Regions from separate parts of the Homo sapiens genome. Here all the other regions are linked to region 3. The links are contacts of gene promoters, found by promoter capture Hi-C in human tissues and cell types (Jung and others, 2019). All regions are on one chromosome and are shown on one strand. Each heading gives the region's core, a stretch centred on a gene start or on the middle of the fragment in contact. The rest is flanking DNA. Distances are from core to core; before and after follow the strand shown. Region 1 holds the start of SMIM7 (small integral membrane protein 7). Region 2 holds the start of CCDC124 (coiled-coil domain containing 124). Region 3 overlaps NR2F6 (nuclear receptor subfamily 2 group F member 6). Region 4 holds the start of MED26 (mediator complex subunit 26).

Evidence for each region. Contacts are between HindIII fragments. The study calls those that stand out against the background at their distance.
Region 1: a contact is called between the fragment with the promoter of SMIM7 here and a fragment that was not itself captured in region 3, in 1 of the 25 tissues and cell types used here (dorsolateral prefrontal cortex).
Region 2: the fragment with the promoter of CCDC124 here is called in contact with a fragment that was not itself captured in region 3 in 1 of the 25 tissues and cell types used here (spleen).
Region 4: the fragment with the promoter of MED26 here is called in contact with a fragment that was not itself captured in region 3 in 1 of the 25 tissues and cell types used here (dorsolateral prefrontal cortex).

The regions. Positions count from the first base shown.
Region 1 is chr19:16,658,694-16,661,393 of GRCh38, forward strand. It overlaps SMIM7 (small integral membrane protein 7), which reads right to left and starts at 1,451. Exons shown (of 5, transcript NM_024104.4): 1 at 1,392-1,451; 2 at 1,266-1,307; 3 at 702-754. The coding sequence starts at 1,417. It overlaps TMEM38A (transmembrane protein 38A), which reads left to right and starts at 2,446. Exons shown (of 6, transcript NM_024074.4): 1 at 2,446-2,648. The coding sequence starts at 2,525. RefSeq lists silencers at 2,044-2,243, 2,264-2,513. The HindIII fragment of the contact is 23,986 bases long and covers 1-2,700 here.
Region 2 is chr19:17,931,638-17,934,337 of GRCh38, forward strand. CCDC124 (coiled-coil domain containing 124) reads left to right here and starts at 1,378. Exons shown (of 5, transcript NM_001136203.2): 1 at 1,378-1,411. RefSeq lists enhancers at 456-994, 1,141-1,200, 1,221-1,410 and a silencer at 1,491-1,540. The HindIII fragment of the contact is 29,527 bases long and covers 1-2,700 here.
Region 3 is chr19:17,241,595-17,244,294 of GRCh38, forward strand. All of the region lies in intron 1 of NR2F6 (nuclear receptor subfamily 2 group F member 6), which reads right to left. Among named protein-coding and RNA genes, the nearest start is that of NR2F6, 3.0 kb to the right of the region's middle. The HindIII fragment of the contact is 5,712 bases long and covers 1-2,700 here.
Region 4 is chr19:16,626,756-16,629,455 of GRCh38, forward strand. MED26 (mediator complex subunit 26) reads right to left here and starts at 1,449. Exons shown (of 3, transcript NM_004831.5): 1 at 1,117-1,449. The coding sequence starts at 1,188. LOC105372296 (a long non-coding RNA gene) reads left to right here and starts at 1,677. Exons shown (of 2, transcript XR_936361.3): 1 at 1,677-2,493; 2 at 2,604-2,700. RefSeq lists silencers at 1,313-1,372, 1,473-1,732, 1,983-2,062 and enhancers at 1,577-2,508, 2,613-2,662. The HindIII fragment of the contact is 10,464 bases long and covers 1-2,700 here.

The DNA of each region.
Region 1 (2,700 bases), core at 201-2,700, 580 kb before region 3:
AGCACTCTGAAAGCAACAGCTATGTGTGAGGTTGTTCATTCATTCATTCACAGGCATCGGAGGACGGGTACGGCAAGAACAAAGGATGGGACAAGCCAAGCTAGGGCCTCTTCTCTGAAGTTTACAGTCATATGTGAGGGGCAGACATTAGCCAGATGACAGCAAACATAACAGAACATTATAACGGTAGGAAGTGATGTGAGTGCTCACATCAGGGAGGTCTGGTAGGAGAAAGAAATAGATGACAGAGGTAGGCAGAAAGGCTAGCACATTCTCAGTCATCTCCCACTCACACACACGCTCAATTAAAGAGAAAACTTGTGGCTCACGCCTGTAATCCCAGCTCTTCGGGAGGCCAAGGCAGGGATCACTTGAACCCAGGAGTTCGAGACCGGCCTGGGCAACGTGGAGAAACCCCATCTCTACAAAAAATACAAAATTTAGCCTGGCATGGTGGCACACACCTGTAATCCCAGCTACTAAGGGGGCTGAGGTGGAAGGATCACTTTAGCTCAGGAGGTCGAGTCTGCAGTGAGCCATGATCGCACCACTGCACTCCAACCTGGACAACAGAGCAAGACCTTGTGTCAAAAAAAAAAAAAAAAAAAAAAGAGAAAGAAAGAAAACGAAGGTAGGGCTTGGCGAAACAGAACTGTCCTCTGAAGTGGACCATGCAATTCCAGGATCCAATTAGACCTTACCTGTGCTGGGCTCCCTGGACTCCTCCCCAAAGCCCTGCGTGTCCTTCTTTTTCCTACAAAGAGGAGCAGACAGTGTCCACTTTCAATGGGACATAGAGTCCTCAGCCCCCTGACCCCCAGCTCAGAAGGCCACAAACACTAAGTTTCAGCCCTGGCCCTGCCGCAAACTTGCTGTGTGACCTCTGACGTTCAATACCCTTCTCTGGGCCCCCACTGCCCGGACAATCACAGCCAGGTCAGCAGCCACCGACCGTTTACAAAGTGGCCCGACAGTGCGGGTGCAGGGCGGAAGGTCCGCGGTGGGGCTATTTCTTGGGGGATGGGGCTTAAGCTCTCCAGGAAGGTGAACAGAGGGACAACCAAGGAACGGAGAGTATGGGTTTAAGGTCTCTCGGGGGGTGGGGGGCGAGGAAGATAAACCAGGCTGGAGGCGTGCCCAGAGGGCGGATAGGGCGGGGCCTGCGGCTTGGGGGCGGGGCCTGAGAAGTGCGCCGAGATCACGCTTATGAGGGCGGGGCTACGGGTTCCCCGGATGGAGCCGCAGTCCGGCCGCGACCTACTCACAGCTTAAAGTTCAGCACCGCCCCGGCATTCATCAGCAACGTCCTGCAGAGGGAGAATTACAGTTACTAGGGGCGCCCCCGCGTCCTGCCTGGCTCTCTCTTCCCAGCCTCTGGTCCCCCTAATTACCCGAACAGCAGGATGTCTCCGATCATCGTTACGGCCGAAGCGTCCGTCAGAACCGGAAGCGGAAGCCCCAGGGAGGGAGGGGAGAGGAGCACAAGCCGACCAATCCTAAAGCAACAGTGGCGAGGGCTGGGCCAATCGAAGGTCAAGGCTGGGAGGGTCCCGCCCTCTGCAGGCCAGACCCCCTTAGGGGAGCGCGAGCGCCCCACCTCGCTGGGGAGGCCCCGAGAGCCAGAATGGGAGGAGCGGGGTCTCCTGGGGGCGGGATTGGGTCACGCGTTCGAAGCGTGCCGCGCATGCGTGAGGTCTCGATGCCGTAGGGTTAGCTGGGCAGCAATTCCTACTCACTTTCTGGGGTCCCAAATTGGGCTTCTGGACAAAAGGAATCCTTTGACTCCTGAGCTGCACAGGGTGCGGGGTCCTGACGCAGTGGGGTCCCTAGAAACGGGTGCCCCAACCAACTGGGCTCTAAAATGAGATCCTCCTGGGCCCCATGGGGAACGGGGGTTCCCACTGAGCTGCCCCCCACAAGACGTCCTGATTTGCAGAGCCCCACCGGAGACGGGGTTCCTGATCGAACGGACCCTATGGGGCAGAAAAGTCTTGACGGGGCTCCACAGAGGACCGAGGTCCTAACCTATCTCCACGGGGAACAGGGGTTCTGATTCATGGGGTCCCACCATGGCGTAGGGGTCCTCACTGGGCTCCACCGAAGATCGGGGTCCTAATTGAGCCCACGGGGACAAAGTCCTGGCCGATCCGGCCCCCTGGGAACGGGCGTCCCGCGTGGGTGGGCTCCGTGAGGGACGGGCCCCCAGAACAGGCAGCTCCCCAGCCTCCCTCGCCTTGCACGGGTGCCCCGCACCCCGCCTCGCTGGGCGGAACGGGGTAGCGATGGCAGGAGGGTCAACGCCTGGGACGCCCGACCGTCCAGCTGCGTCCGTGGTGCTGGGCGTCCCCACCACCTGTCCCGGGGTGGGCCGTCGCCCCTCCTCTCCCGCGGGGGCCGGGCCTGGGGTGGCGCCTGGCGGGCGGGGGCGGGCCCAGCTGCGGGGGCGCAGTCGCCGGGCCGCGGGCGGCGGGACGGACGAGGCCGGGGCCCCGGGTGGCACCCGGCAGGCGGGCAGGCGGGCGCCATGGAGCTGCTCTCGGCGCTGAGCCTGGGCGAACTGGCGCTCAGCTTCTCGCGGGTGCCGCTCTTCCCCGTCTTCGACCTCAGTTACTTCATCGTCTCCATCCTCTACCTCAAGTATGAGCCAGGTGAGCCGGGGCGGGGGGCTGGAGGGGACCGGCAGCGGGTGGCGCGGGCCGG
Region 2 (2,700 bases), core at 128-2,627, 690 kb after region 3:
AGCTAATGTTTTTATCTTCTGTCGAGATGGGGTCTCATAATGTTGCCCAGGCTGCTTTCAAACACCTGGCCTCAAGCGATCCTCCCACCTTAGCCTTCCAAAGGGTTGGGATCACAGGCATGTGCCACTGCGACCAGCCAGGATAATAATCTTTCATGTGATTTTCCGACTTTAAGCCCCCTGCACCCAGAGACCTTTCTGTCTCATGCCTGAAGGGAAGGAACTGGCCACGGAAAAACCTGGGAAATTCCTGGGGGAACTCCCTGAGGCAAGACTGCGCCTGGCAATTTGTAAGAAGGGGGCTGGTGCGACCTGAGCAGAGAGCTAATGGGAGGGTGAGGGAAGCCAAGGGAGATGGGGTGGGAGGTGGGAGGAGTCTTGCGGGACAATGGGAACCCAGGGGAGGCGTTAGAGCAGGGGAGGTGCATCGCGCACTGGGATTTAGGTCCCAGCAAGGTCGCTGGGGGGATGCCTTTTAGGGAATGGACTCTGTGGTCAACTACTCCTACCTGAACTGCCCCCAAAGCATTTGCTTTTCCCTCTCCACAGTCAGGACCAGTGTAACCTTAGACCCCTAATACTGCCATTTTTACTGTTGAGAACACCGAGAAGTAGTAAATGCAGAAAATCTAAAGTATAGTGCCTAAGACAAATTGGCGCCTCAAACCTAATTTCTAAATAAAATTAATAAATAATATTGCAGAAGTGGGGAGCAGGTCAGCAATCCAGGAAGAGGCACTGGCAGGAGCAAGAGACGGAATTTGAGCCTACTCGCGGTTATGAGCCTACTCGCGGTTACATTTTGGCCAAACTCAATTCCTGGTCTCTCTGAGCCTCGGTTTCCCTACCTGGACTGCGCGGTGTGTGTTAATTTCTCTGCCCCATTTATCTCCCCTCTCCTAGCCCCGCCCCAGCGTCACCAGTGGGACGCAGAGACTCAGGACTAGGAAAGCACTTTTAAAGCGTTAAGGGATTGCGAAGAGCTACGGAGAGGCTTCCTCAGGGCTATACTGGGTCCACCTCCCCTCATGGACCGCGGGCGCGCTCTGGCGGCCGGGCCGCTCCAGGCTGAAGCCGCCGGACCACGTGTGTAGTCGCAGCTGCCATCTTTCATCCGGGCATCGGCCATCTTGGTAAAGGCAATGTTCTAGATTTTCGCCTCTGCCCGCCCCTCCTGGTTCATCAACATATTAAATGAGCGTAGGGAATGAGGGCGTATTAAGTGTCCTCTTTTTGAAGAGACAAAGAAGTGGCTGACTACCCTGGCTTGGGTCCGAGGCCCAGCCATCTTTTTCTTTACCAAAATGGCGGCGGTACTGAGGCGCAATGAGTGCGCGCCGCCAGGAGCTCAGCGCGCAGGCCCCATGATGACGTCACGGAGGCGCGACCGGGCCGGCGCTGGGGTAAGAAGGTAGGAGCGTCTGCGGCGCGGGCGGAACCCGGGTTCGGGGAGCAGAGGCGCGGGGCGGGGGCTGCTTGGCCTGGGACCATCCCCTGGGAAGGCTGGAGGAGGGGTGCTGGGAGGCAGGAGCACTTCTGGCGTCCAGTCTGAACCGCACCTAGTTGGGGGCGATGCCCATTTCCAGACTAGACGATTGAAGCCCGACGCGACAGCATGTTCGAGGCCACCTGGCCCCGGACTGCCCCTAGGCAGCTTCTGGTCTCGAGAGGGACAGAGTTGGGCGCGGACTCCCCCGGCCTCTTGTAGGGGGATTAGTGGTGGGGGACTTCAAAAGGGATAGCCGGGAGGGCTGCTTAGAGGAGGCATTGTTGAATTTTGTATTCTGTTATTTTACCTTCACATCCGTGGGGTCTTAATCCCCATGGGTCTTGATTCGCTTCTAAGTGTGCCCCTCGCCCAGCCTGAGCCACTCCCTGGGTACCGCCTGGGCTCCCAGCTCCTGCCATCTGGGGAGTCCACCTCCTCACTAACCCCAGAGGGCTTGTGTGACCCATAGATTGGGCTTCCCGGCTCTAACGCCCTCCACACCTTCCCATCTCCCTGGAATACAAATCGCCCCCTTTTCCAGCCTACCTCCTGCATCCCGCGTGCAGGCTGCGCTCTCCCCCACTCATTCAGACTTTTCCTTAGATGTCTCCTTTAGGAAGCCCTTTGACCCAGGCTGGGTCAGAAGCCCTCTCCGGGCTTCCCCGGCGCCCTGCGTGTCCTTATTAGGACTCTGATTGCATGTGTTGGCTCTTCTCTGGGAGTCCCATGCAGGCAGAAAGCTCATTTGTGCCACCTCTTTCCCCAGCATCGCACACGTATTAGGTGCCCAGTACATATTTATTGAATGACGTGTGCAAGTGAGTGAGTGTTTACTACACAGAGAAAAGTGTCTGTATTTCCAGCTTGGGCTGTCATAACTAATACCACAGACTGGGTGGCTTAAACAGCAGAAATTGCCAGGCACTGTGGCTCACACCTGTAATCCAGGCACTTTGAGAGGCCGAGGCAAGCGGATCACTTGAGGTCAAGAGTTTGAGACCAGCCTGGCCAACATAGTGAAACCCCGTCTCTACTAAAAATACAAAAATCAGATAGGCATGGTGGCACATGCCAACATGGTGAAACCCCATCTCTATAAAAATACAAAAATTAGCCGGGCGTGGTGGCAGGTGCCTGTAATCCTAGCTGCTTGGGAGGCTGAAACAGGAGAATTGCTTGAACCGGGTGGGTGGAGGTTGCAGTGAGCCGAG
Region 3 (2,700 bases), core at 85-2,584:
CCCTGGTCTCTTGCCACCAGGAGCTGGGGGCTCTCCAAGGCCTGGGCCTGGAGCAACTACCCCTGGGGTTCCAGCTGGACACCCAGGGGACACACAGAGACAGTCACAGAGTAGAACCACCACTTAAGGGAATTAAACAGATGCATCTCTGCAGTGGCTCACGCCTGTAATCCCAGCACTTTGGGAGGCGGGGGAGGGTGGATCACCTGAGGTCAGTTCAAGACCAGCCTGGCCAACATGGTGAAACCCCGTCTCTACTAAAAATACAAAAATGAGCTGGGCGTGGTGGCGCATGCCTGTAATCCCAGCTACTTGGCAGGCTGAGGAAGGAGAATCGCTTGAACTGGGGAGGTGGAGGTTGCAGTGAGCCAAGATTGACCCACTGCATTCCAGCCAGGGTGACAGAGTGAGACTCTGTCTCAAAAAAAAAGAAAAAAAAAAAGGCTGGGTGCAGTGGCTCATGCCTGTAATCCCAGCACTTTGGGAGGCCGAGGCGGGCGGATCACCTGAGGTTGGGAGTTTGAGACCAGCCTGAACAACATAGAGAAAACCTGTCTCTACTAAAAATACAAAATTAGCCGGGCATGGTGGCGCATGCCTGTAATCCCAGCTATTTGGGAGGCTGAGGCAGGAGAACCGCTTGAACCCGGGAGGCAGAGGTTGCAGTGAGTTGAGATCACGCCATCGCACTCCAGCCTGGGCAACAAGAGTGAAACTCCGTCTCAAAAACAAAACAAAACAAAACAAAACAGATGAATCTCAGCTGCAGATACCCAGCCCTGCCCCTCAGGTGGCGACTGCCCCACTGAGCCTCGGTTTCCTCATCTGAAAATGGGAGGTCAGATATTGCCCTATCATATGGGATGGACTGGGTCAGAGGGGTTCACGGGGGACAGTGCCAAGACCCAGAGCCCAGCCGGAGAACCCAACTTAGGAAAGCTGAGGATCTGCGCCCACTCCCCCGTACCCCCCCTCCACCACTGCCTGGGTCCTGCAGCACCAGCCACTGAGCCCCTGGGAAGAGGCCCCACTAGGGCAGAGGGAGCTCAGGCAGAACCAGAACAAAGCCCAGCGGCTGGGTGGTGGGAGGGTCCAGGGCAGCCGGGTGGAAACGGCCTGGCCTGGGGCGGCCCTGCAGGCAGGCAGAGGCCCAGCTCAGGGGCCCCTGACCTCAGGGGAGGCCCTGAACCTTCAGTCTCAACTTCCCCAGCTGTGGAATTGGGACAGATCCATCCCTCCAAGGAGGGAAACAGTTAAGTTCTTCCTGTTATCCCACCTAAAGAGTGCAAGCTTTTTTGCCCAACCCCATGGCCCAACTCAGCTTCCTCCCTGGGCTTCTGGCCTCCAGTCCAATTTGATCAGAGCCCTCTCCTGCTCACACACCCTCTATGGCTCCCCATTACCCTCAGCCAGCATTTCAGGCCCACCTAGCTCTGACTTCTCCCATGGCTGCACAGTCCCCCTCTTACAGCACAGCTCCCCCAGTCTGCCACTAAGTGTTTTGTCTGGACCACATTCTGGCATGTCCCTGTGGCCTTTCTTCCACCTGCCAACTCCATGCTTCAAGGCTCATGTCCCCTAGCCTCCTCCAGGCAGCCCTCTCTGACCTCCAGGCAGAGCCTCTGCTCTCTCCCTGGGACCCCAGATCCCACAGACTTGGGGCATCTGTCTCACTGTGTCTCCTCCAGACTGGGGGCTTCTCAGGAGCTAGACTTGGAGCTGGGGTCTCTCTGGAGGGGCTGGCATCAAACTACCCAGGCTGGGCCCCAGCGAGACCCTGCTCAATCCATTTGAAGCTCAGAATGGAATGGTGATTTCACCAGGTCACACAACTGACACAGCACAAACCTGTCAGCTCCAAGCAAGGCCCCCCCCACCCAAAATTGCTGCTCCCTGACACCACCCTCAGGAAGCTCCTGGGACCCCAAAACTGCCTGAGCCCCCCTCCCTTACCCTCCCTAAAGATATGACCAGAGAGCAGGCGGTTTTCCAGCAGCAAGAATGAGGCCAAAGTCTAGTGGCCCACTTTGTGCTGGAGGAGGGAGCAAGGCAGCTCTGCCACACATGGCCACACCAGGCCAGCCCTGACCCGGGACCTGGGGCCAAACTCCACCCTCGGGTACCTGGGGCCCTATTTGGTGGCCTCAGCCAACAAGCCTTCCATCAGCCGTTCTCCCTGGGGCCACTCCGATCCGAACTCAGCGGTCCCCACCCTAGCCCCACAGTTCCCCCACAGTGCCCCCAACTCGGGCAGCGTCCCTCCATGTCCAACGCAAAGCAGGCACCAGGACCTCTCTCTGGGCCTTTGGGCCTCTGTTTTGGGCAGCTGGGAACTGAGACCGTCTAGACGGGCTCCACAGAGACCCTGCATGTTCCTGGGGTGCAGAGTAGGGGCTTATAAACGGACAGATCGGATGCTCGCCCGGGAACGGTGAGAAAAGAACTCCCGGGCTGGACAACCCCGATCGCTTTCCCTGGGGACCTTCCGCCAGAACAGCTAGCAAGGCCACGCCCTGCCAGAGAGGTCTCCGACCTGGGACAGCCCAAGGCTCCTGCTCGGAAACGTTTCACTCCCTGCCCGTCTCAGAGACACCCAAAGTTTGAGGGATTTTTCCAGGAGCCCCAGGTCTGCACCCACCCCTGGGGGAGAGGGACGTTTCAGTCAATTCCGGTGGCCCTGCCGGCCTTCCAGTGGCGATT
Region 4 (2,700 bases), core at 199-2,698, 610 kb before region 3:
ACATTAAAAAGTGATCTCAATGGCCACTTCCTGGGAAGCAGGGCCTCCCCTCATACCTGGATGCTACTGCATCTTCCTACCGCCCTGCTCCTGCCGCGGGAAGAATGACCCCTACTGCCAAGAAACTCTTGGAGAAAATATGAGAATAGATCAGTCTTCCCCCCCACCCCCCCACCCCCGCAACAACACACACACACACACGGAAGGGGAGGGGGCGGTCCCTCCGCAAACAGTAGCCTCAGCAAAGGGGCACCCGAGGAAGCGACACTCTGGAGTTAACCCCGACAGTCTGGGTCAAAAACCACCAGGCTGAGACCCCCAGGTGAGGGAAAGAGCCTACTGAAACAGAGCTCTTGGGTAAACGGGAGAGAAAAGTCCTCTTTAATTCACTACCTAAAAAATGGAGCTCTGGCTTGGTCAGAGACGCAATGGGTACTGAGGCCCAGAAAGGCAACAGGAAGGATCCCACCCTCCCCGAGATCATCTATCGTCGGCAGCGACCCCAAGAGGGTTTTGGCAAAGGCGTGTCTAGTCACAGAAGGGAGACAGACTCTCCACGTACCCTAGGTACCCGGCCAGGGGCAAAACAGACTGGGGGTTCTCTCCGAAGCCAGGAAGGTGCTGCCAGCCGAGAGGAGGGGGAAGAAGGACTTCCCTGATCACCCAGGAGGCCAAGACATGGGAGACATAGGTTCCCCGAGTCATACCCCGGACACCAGTTGCTTCACAGCCCTTCTCCCTCCCCTTCCCGCTCCGGGAGGGCTTCCCGGGGGTCTCGGGTCCCGGAGGGAGGGCGAGGCAGAGAAGCTTCGTCCAGAGCAGTGAGGGTCGTAGAGCTGGAGCAGAAAGGGAGGAAAAACTCTAGCCTCAGCTCCCCCGTCTGCTTCCTCCGCCCAGGCCGCACGGAAGCCTCGGCCTCACGTACCGAGCGCTGCCGGGCTGCCCGACCTGCCCCCGGCCCGGGCCCGAGAAGCGAGAGGCAGGGATGGCAGCGGCCCTCGAGGGGAGGTGGGCGCCAGACGGGTCCCCCGAAGCCCGGTGGGCGAGGGGTACAGGAGAGGGGGAGGGTCCCGGGCCCATGCGGCCTCCGTCCCAGCTCGCGCGGCGGGTACTTACGTTGCTCTGGGGGTCGATGGCCTGCAGCAGCCGGTCCCTGATCTGCTGCGGAGACGCCGGAGCCGCTGTCATTGCCTGGGCGAGGCGGGGGGTTGCGGCCGGGCCAGCGGGCGGGCGGGCTGAGGCGGGGGACGGGGGTCACTCACTCGCCGGCCTCCGGGAGCCGGAGCCGCATGTTCCCCGCGGCGCCGGGGGGTTGGGGGCGCGCGGGGTGGCGGAGAGGGGAGCCGGGGCCGGGTCTCGGTCCCGGGCCGCCGCCGCCACCAAAGGAGGAGGAGGAGCCGCCGGAGCCGCCGCCGCTCGCTGCCGCCGCCTCGAGAACCAAACTCCAGTGAGCTGCCCCCGCGCGGAGTACTCTGGGTAGTCCGCGCCGCACGCAGCGTCGGCGCCACGCTGAGGAGGTTGGGAGATGGGGCGGGCGGAGACGCCAGGCCTGGGCGGGGCTGCCCGTGTGCCACGCCCCGCGCCTCCGCGCAAGCGCGCGCAGGCGCACTCGTCCGCCCGTGACGCCCCGCCCAGCCGCCCGGCCTAGGCAGCCGTTGGGAGGAGGTTGGGCGGGGCAACGGCCCCCGTCCAGGTCACGGGGCGGGGCTTTCTGACGGAAGCGCGCGCGCAAAGAGTCCTTGAACCCGGACGCTCGCAGCGGCTACCTCGGGGCGGGGAGGGCGGCGGGAAAATCCTTCCTCTGGGAGAGCCTTCCCGGCGCGTGACTGGGGGACGGGAGTCGCAGGCTGAGCAGCTGCCGAGTTTTTTGTGAGGGCGAGGGAACCAGACGTCCACGTTGTGATTCTGCGCGCAGAAGGGTCATCGGAGTCCGGGGGTGTCGCCGCGGCCCCCCCGCCCCTCAGAGGGTGTGGGAATGGGTGTGGTGGCAGGGCGGGGGTCTGCACCGCCACGCGCGACCCCGATCGCGAAAACGTGAGGCGGCAAAGCGCCTCTGGCAGAAGCCGCCCGCCGTAGCTGGGAAAGCCGGAGGTTGCAAATCTGCGTCTACGCGGCGGCTTCTCCACCTCGGCACCACTGGCATTTGGGCGGGATCGCTCTGTCTTCGGGGCGGGTCCCCCGATCTGTCGGAAGTTGAGCGGCATCTCTGGCCTCCGAAGCGCCCCCTCCCCCAATCTGCAGTCATTGCCGCCGTCCCTTGTGGGGGCACAGTCCCCCCGCCCCCCCACCGGCAGAGAACCCCGTGATTGAAAGACCCTTCTACCCGCCTCTGCCTTGAGATTCTGTAAAACTGAGATGCTCATTCTCTTAACCAAACACGTCACAGAGGAGGAAACGGAGGCCCAAGGTCACCTAGACTTCGGGGTTAAGCCCAGAACCGCAGATGTCAAGTTTAAGGGCGCCCCTCCTCCCTCCACCCTGTTTATTGCCTTGGTAATTGCTCCCCTCTCTCTGGGAGCTCTGTTGGAAATGCTCTTGTGAGACGGGATGGAAAGGCAAGCTCGGCGGCCTCGGGAGAAATCTTTTTTTTCCCACTGTTACAGGAAGACCTAGATTTAAAACAGGAGGAAGACAGCTGATGAGAACCACATGTGTGCCTTGGAGCTGCCCGACACCTGTTAGTCTTGTATTTGTTGTGCT